2 separate regions of the Homo sapiens genome follow, and region 2 is linked to region 1. Evidence: promoter capture Hi-C in 16 types of primary human blood cells and fetal thymus (Javierre and others, 2016). All regions are on one chromosome and are shown on one strand. The core of a region is centred on a gene start or on the middle of the fragment in contact, and the rest is flanking DNA. Distances in the headings are between cores, read along the strand shown.

Region 1 (3,614 bases), core at 300-2,799:
TCTCCCAACCCAAGCCCCCATTTAAAATACCTAAGTAACCTTCTCTAAACATCCACATCATTAAAAATAAGTTTCCAACGTGGCAGACTCGTTTATGTAAAGCCATTATTGCTGTCTTATTGGAAGAACAAAACTCAAACCCAACTTTTCCAAGGCAAGAGTTGTGAAGTTATGTAACAGGTCGGTTTCAGCAACAGGCGATGCAAGAAAAAACAAAATACAACCTGCTTCCTGAATGATCTTAATAGCCAGCCAATATGTGCTCCTCCATGGGAGGCAAAAATTCTTCTCTGCCTCAACCTTCCGCTGGCCAGCGCCCCTATGCATGGGGAAAGTCGAACCTACGCTCCGTGACTGTGAAAGGTGGGGTGCCCAGATGGCTGCGACCACAGATGGGAGGTGGGACAGGCGGCCAGACCCACCAATGGGGAGACCGGGCAGGACCCCCGGACCAGGCCAGAGACAGGATTAGGGCAGGTCACCCTGGATACTCCCGGAAAGGGACTGAGGGAAGTCACTCAAGCTCCGGCCTGAGCAAGACCCGGCCCAGGTCGTAGGAGAACTCGAGGCAGAATACCGAGACCTGCGAAAGAGGGACCAGGGCAGGTCACCCTAGCCCGGATGGAATGGAAGAACTCAGATAAGTCAGGGGGCAGGTTACTCCAGGCCAGACTGATTGTGGGACACAAGGCAGGTCAGCCCGGGCCCAGGAGGGGGAGCAAACCCAGCTGGCGTAAAGGAACAGGGTCAGGTTAGCTCGGTCCCGAACGAAGTGGAGGACTCGAGGCAAGTCTGCCCGGCCCAGGAGTTGGGGGCCGAAGGAACTCAGCCAGGTCGCGGCCGGAGCGGGGGACCCGGGGCAGATCAGGCCAGGCCCGGGCAGATTGCAGGACCTGGGGCAGGTAAGCTCAGGCCGAGCCAGAGTAGGGGACCCGGGGCAGATCGCCCCAGGCCCGGCCGCGATGGGGGACTCCGGCCAAACACAGGCCGGGCCCGAGGCGAGTTCGGGGCAGGTCTCAGGCGCCGAGGCCGGGCCCGGGCTTCCGGCACCGCCATGTGCCGCTCACCTGCGCGTCGAGCTGTCCCGCCGCAGCGCCCGCGCCCGCGCCGCCCGGGCCTCCCGCGCCGCCACCGCCCGGGCCGCCGGGGCCGCCGGGGGGCGTCTGCGTCTGGCTAGGAAGAGTAAAGTCGGTGAACTCGAACTCGGAGCCCTGTGTGTCGGCGCCAAGCAGCTCGGCCTCCTCCGTGTCCAGGAAAGTGAGAGTCTGCGAGCTGGGCCCGTACGCCTCCACGCTCATGGTGCCTCCGGGTAGGGCCCTCGGGCCGGTTCCGCGCTGCACTCGAGCCCGCCGCCGCGCTGAGGCCTAGGCCGCAGGCCTCGGGTCGCTGCCGCTGTCGCCCCCGCGCGCCCGGAAAGGACCAAACCGCGCGCCCCGGCGCCAGCCGGACCGAGAGGTAACAGTGCCGAGCCGCCGCCGCTGCCGCCGAGCCCCTCCGCGCCTCAGCTCCCCTCGAAGCCGCCAGCCGCTCGCAGCCTAGAGCAGGAACTGCCGCCACCGCCGCCGTCGCCGTGCGCGTGCGCGAGCCCGACGCCGGCGGAAGCGCGCGCGCTCTTCGCGGGCGCCTGGTGCCCAGCAGGAAGACGGGACGCGCACCGCGCACGCGCAGGGGGTGGGGCTTTCAACCGCCGCTGCGGCGGCAGCTCGAGGACTTGGTCCCGCCCCAACTGCTAATTGGGGACGCCCGGGCGGCTGGCGGTGTGGACTTGGTGGTCTGCACCTGTGGTCGCTGCGACGGTGTTTCGGTTTAATTGAGCGCTAGCCGAATACCCTACATAGGTGGTCTCGGAACGCCCAACTGGAGAGACTGGGCAGGGACGGTGCGCTCCCACTCCTGGCAAAAGCTGCTTGGAACTCAGTTTCCCCATCTGTAAAATGGAGGGTGCCTCGCACATAGTAGATGCTCCCTGTGCATTGGTTTAAAAAGGGAGTGGGGCTCGGCGCGGTGGTCACACCTGTAATCCCAACACTCAGAGGCTGAGGCGGGAGAACTGCTTGAACTCAGGAGTTCGAGACCAGCCTGGGAGACAGAGTGAGACTCCATCTCTACAAAAAATATAAAAATTAGGCCGAGCGCGGTGGCTCACGCCTGTAATCCCAGCACTTTGGGAGGCCGAGGCGGGTGGATCATGACGTCAGGAGATCGAGACCATCCTGGCTAACATGGTGAAACCCCGTCTCCACTAAAAATACAAAAAATTAGCCAGGCGTGGTGGCACGAGCCTGTAGTCCCAGCTACTCAGGAGGCTGAGGCAGGAGAATCGCTTGAACCCAGGAGGCGGAGGTTGCAGTGAGCCAAGATTGTGCCACTGCACACCAGCCTGGGCAACAGAGTGAGACTCTGTCTCAAAAAAAAAAAAAAAAATTAGCTAAGCGTGGTGGTTCGCACCTGTAGTCCCAGCTACTAGGGAGGCTGAGGTGGGAGGATCGCTTGACCCTGGGAAGTTGAGGCTGCAGTAAGCCGAGATTGCACCACTGCACTCCAGCCTGGGTGACAGAGCGAGACCCTGTCTCAAAAATAAGTAAAAATAAATGAATGGGGATAGTCTTACGTACTGGGCCTGGCACTTGGAAATGATGGTTGCTGCTGTTCCTGATGCCTCTGCCACTGTTATTATACCATTACTATTTTTGCTATGATTATTATTTAGTGGACGTATACAGCAAAACAACTGGAAGCACATGGTCTGTGGTGGACTCTAGACCTGACCACTTACCAGCTGTGTGAAATTATACAAGTGACTTAACCTCTCTGAGCCTAGGGTTTCTGTTGCCATTAAGGTGGCATAGGAAGCCTGGGCAAGGTGGCTCTTTCCTGAAATCCCAGCACTTTAGGAGGTAGAGGCAAGAGAATCACTTGAGCTCAGGAGTTTGAGGCTGCGGTGAGCTATGATTGTGCCACTGCACTCCAGCCTGGGTGACAGAGATCCTATGTGTGTGTGTGTATATTAATATATATTTATTTATGTTAATATAAATAGAGTGACTAGTAGCTCATTTATTCCTCTCATACTCTCATGTGATATATGGTTGCTGCTGATATATATGGAGCCCGGTGCGGTGTGTCACGCCTGTAATCCCAGCACTTTCGGAGGCCAAAAGAGCAAGACCTTGTATAAAAATAAATTTTAAAAACTCTGATAGGTGTTACTAAATTGATCTGAAATTTGTCTACAAATTCCACTGGATGTGTTCCAAAGAGAGCTTTGCATGATATTAAAATTATCTGTTGGTCTGTCAGTATTCCCCCTTAAACTGTGCCTTCTTGGAGAGGGAGACCTACTTTTATTCATTGTTTATATTCCTACAGTTTAGTGCATGCTAGGAGCCCCCCCCGAAATGTTATTTTTATTTTTTATTTTTTGTAGAGATGGGGGTTTTGCTGTTTCCTAGGCTGGTCTTGTACTCCTGACCTCAAGTAATCGTCCCACCTCAATCTTCCAAAGAGCTGTGATTATAGGTATGAGCCACTATGTCTTGTCCCTGAAAAAGAGTGAAGAAGGCTGTGGCTCACACCTGTAATCCCAGCACTTTGGGAGGCAGAGGCAGGTGGAT
Region 2 (3,614 bases), core at 538-3,037, 190 kb after region 1:
TGGGCCTGGAGCCCCATTTCCCAGATGAGGAATCTGTCACAGCCACAACCCATAAAGAGGGAGCCACAGTCACCCATGGGTATGATGAGACACCTCATGCCGCCATATCTGACCACATTTTCCAGGAGAAGGACTTGAGTCCACGTCTTGGAAGGGTCAAAATCCTCCTTCTGAAAGGGGCATGAGGCCGGGCGCACTGGCTCATGCCTGTAATCCCAGCACTTTGGGAGGCCAAGGCAGGTGGATCACCTGAGGTCAGGAGTTCGAGACCAGCCTGGCCAACATGATGAAACCCCATCTCTCCTAAAAATACAAAAACTAGCCAGGCATGGTAGTGGGCGCCTGTAGTCCCAGCTACTTGGGAGGCTGAGGCAGGAGAATCACTTGAACCCAGAAGGCGGAGGTTGCAGTGAGCCAAAATCATGCCACTGCACTCCAGCCTGAGCTCAGAGTGACGTCAAAAAAAATTAATAATAATAAAAAAGAAAGGGGCAAGAGGCCAAAGGAATGAGAACTTCCCCAAAGTAGCAAGAACCTCCTTGGGAAGCCACCTCTTCCCCTAAGTCTTCCTAGCAGGAGCTGGGGGGCTGGACCCTTCCAAGGCCTCTGGGCTTGGTGGAGATGATCTAGATTGTGGAGAAAGCTTCAACAGGCAAAGGCCACCCAGCCAGACTGACTGTGACAAACCCACCGGGCGCAGCGTCTCGGCCACAACTTTCCATGCAAACACTTTCAGCAGGCAGCAAAGCCCCTGGGCACAACGTCCCAGCCATCACTTCTTTTTTTTTTTTTTTTGATACAGAGTCTCACTCTGTCGCTCAGGCTGGAGTGCAGTGGCAGGATCTCGGCTCATTGCAACCTCCTCCTCCCAGGTTCAAGCGATTCTCCTGCCTCAACCTCCAGAGTTGCTGGGATTAAAGACGCCCACCACCACACCTGACTAATTTTTGTATTTTTAGTAGAGAGGGGGTTTCACTATGTTGGCCAGGCTGGTCTCAAACTCTGGACCTTGTAATCTGCCTGCCTTGGGCTCCCAAAGTGCTGGGATTACAGGAGTGAGCCAAAGCACCCAGCCTAGCCACCACTTCTTATGCAAATGCCTGAAGCTGGCACATCCCTCACCCAGATCCCCCCACCTCACCCCCAGGAACAGCATGACTCAGTGAGCCTGGGCCCTACCCAGGCGTCTCCAGGGAGCGTGGGCCAAAAAGCGTGGATGCCAAAGGCCCATGTCGGAGAGGCTGCAAGGCCAGAAGGTTCCTCCAAAACTCTGCCGGTCAGGTACCTCACAGTGACAGAATTTTAGCTGGGGAGGTGCGACTCCCCAGAGGGTTTGCCTCCCCTTGCGACACCCCAAGTGGCCCAAGCCTCCTTTCCCTCCAAGGAGTCTAGACCCCGCGGCCCGAGCTGGGAGGAGGCCAGCTGGTGAACAAGTGTCCTTTGTGCTTGCAGCAAGGACCCCACCTCCTCTCCGCACACCCCAGCCAGGGCAGCCCCACTCTGTCCATCCCTGAGGTTCGGCTCAGTCATTAATGACCACCTCTACTAGGCAACGGGTTTTTTGTTGATCCCTCGAGATAGGAAGGAAGGAGAATAAGCTTTTCTCTTTCTTTTTTCCCCCTCGGTTGCAGAAGACAGAAGTTGGAACAAACAAGTTATATAACGTTGGGGGCGGTCGGGGGTGGGGGAGCGCAGTCCCTCCTGGGGACAGTTTCTTGAGTTGTGGTACCGCTGGAAGGGCCAGGGGGAAGACAGGAACTGCCCCCGCCCCTGGCCAAAAGACAAAACCTTCGTGGGACAAAAAGGCAGATGCGGGCGTTGCCTGGCAGGCTAGAAAGGCAGCTAGAGACTAAGGCCAGCCCCCACTGCCCCCCAGCAGCCCCACAAGCCTCACTGGAAAGGCAAAAGATCGACCTGATCCCATAGAAGGGAATTCCTACCTGCCAGACTGCAAGCCTCAGAGAGCAATAAGCTTTTGCACACCCCCATCCCTCCCTTCCTCCCTCTCAGCCACGTCTCTGGGACACTTCCTCCTTCTGTGTCATTCATGTTCCAGGCACACAAGAGGGCACAAGAGAGACAGGCTTTCCAACCTCAAGGCACCAGAGAAACACAACAAATAACGTTAGGTGGTGACCAGCATGATCAAGAATATACAACAAGCATGCGCCCCAGCAATTCTGCTCCTAGATGTGTACCCCAAAGGACTGAACATGAGTGTTTAGACAAAAATGTGTACACTCATGTTCATAGCAGCATGATTCATAATAGCCAAAAGGTGGAACCAATCTAAGTGTCCATCAACAGATGAATGGATGATGTGGTGCATCCACACAGTGGAATATTACTCAGCCATAAAAAGGAATGAAGTGCTGATTTAGGCTACAACATGCATGACCCCCAAAGCATCATGCTGAGTGAAAGAAGCCAGACTCAAAAGGCCACATAGTGCATGATTCTACCTATAAAACTTGAAAACGGATAGAGACAGACTGCAGATTGGTGATTGTCAGGGGCTGGGCAATGGAGAATAGGGGGTTAGTGCTAATGAAGATGGGGTCACCTTTTGCGGGGACAAAGATGTTTTGGAACTGGACAGCAGTGATGGTTGCACAATTCTGTGAATGTACTAAATGCCACTGAATTGTTCACTTAAAGTGGGTGAATTTTGTGTTACATATATAGTACCTCAAAAACAAAAAACAAAAATACAGGTTGGGCATAGTGGTTCATGCTTGTAATCCCAGCACTTCGGGAGGCTATGGCAGGAAGATCACTTGAGCCCAGGAGTTCAAGACCAGCCTGGGCAACATAATCAGACCCCATCTTGGCCGGACACAGTGGCTCATGCCTGTAATCGCAGCACTTTAGGAGGCCAAGGTGGGCGGATAACCTGAGGTCAGGAGTTCGAGACCAGCCTGACCAAGATGGAGAAACCGCATCTCTACTAAAAATACAAAATTAGCCAGGCATGGTGGCACATGTCTGTAATCTCAGCTACTCGGGAGGCTGAGGCAGGAGAATCGCTTGAACCCAGGAGGCGGATGTTTTGGTGAACCGAGATCATGCCATTGCACTATAGCCTGGACAACAAGAGCAAAACTCTATCTCAAAAAAAAATAATAATAAGACCCCATCTCTATAAAATAATATATATATTTTTTAAGACAGTCTGGTTCTCTCGCCCAGGTGGGAGCGCAGTGGAGCGATCTCAGCTCACTGCAACCTCTGCCTCCCGGGTTCAAGTGATTCTCTTGCCTCAGCCTCCCGAGTAGCTGGGATTACAGGCACGTGCCACCAATCCTGGCTAATTTTTGTATTTTTAGTAGAGAAGCGGTTTCACCATGTTGGCTAGGCTGGTCTCAAACTCCTGACCTCAAGTGATCTGCCCACCTCGGCCTCCCAAAGTCCTAGGATTACAGGCATGAGCCACCGCGCCCGGCCCAAAACAATTTTTAAAAATTAGTCAGGTGTGGGCTAGGCACAGTGGCTCACGCCTGTAATCCCAACACTTTGGGAGGCCAAGGCAGGTGGATCACGAGGTCAGGAGATCAAGACCACCCTGGCCAACATGGTGAAACCCCGTCTCTATTAAAAATACAAAAATTATTTGG

Evidence for each region. Contacts are between HindIII fragments. The CHiCAGO score rates a contact against its expected background, and 5 or more counts as called.
Region 2: a fragment that was not itself captured here is called in contact with the fragment with the promoter of UPF1 in region 1 in 1 of 17 cell types (megakaryocytes); the score reaches 5.3 in megakaryocytes.

The regions. Positions count from the first base shown.
Region 1 is chr19:18,829,894-18,833,507 of GRCh38, reverse strand. UPF1 (UPF1 RNA helicase and ATPase) reads right to left here and starts at 1,549. Exons shown (of 24, transcript NM_002911.4): 1 at 1,068-1,549. The coding sequence starts at 1,298. RefSeq lists silencers at 936-1,015, 1,026-1,115, 1,266-1,365, 1,486-1,745. The HindIII fragment of the contact is 13,345 bases long and covers 1-3,614 here.
Region 2 is chr19:18,642,993-18,646,606 of GRCh38, reverse strand. The region is part of intron 1 of KLHL26 (kelch like family member 26); the gene reads right to left. Among named protein-coding and RNA genes, the nearest start is that of KLHL26, 7.8 kb to the right of the region's middle. The HindIII fragment of the contact is 374 bases long and covers 1,601-1,974 here.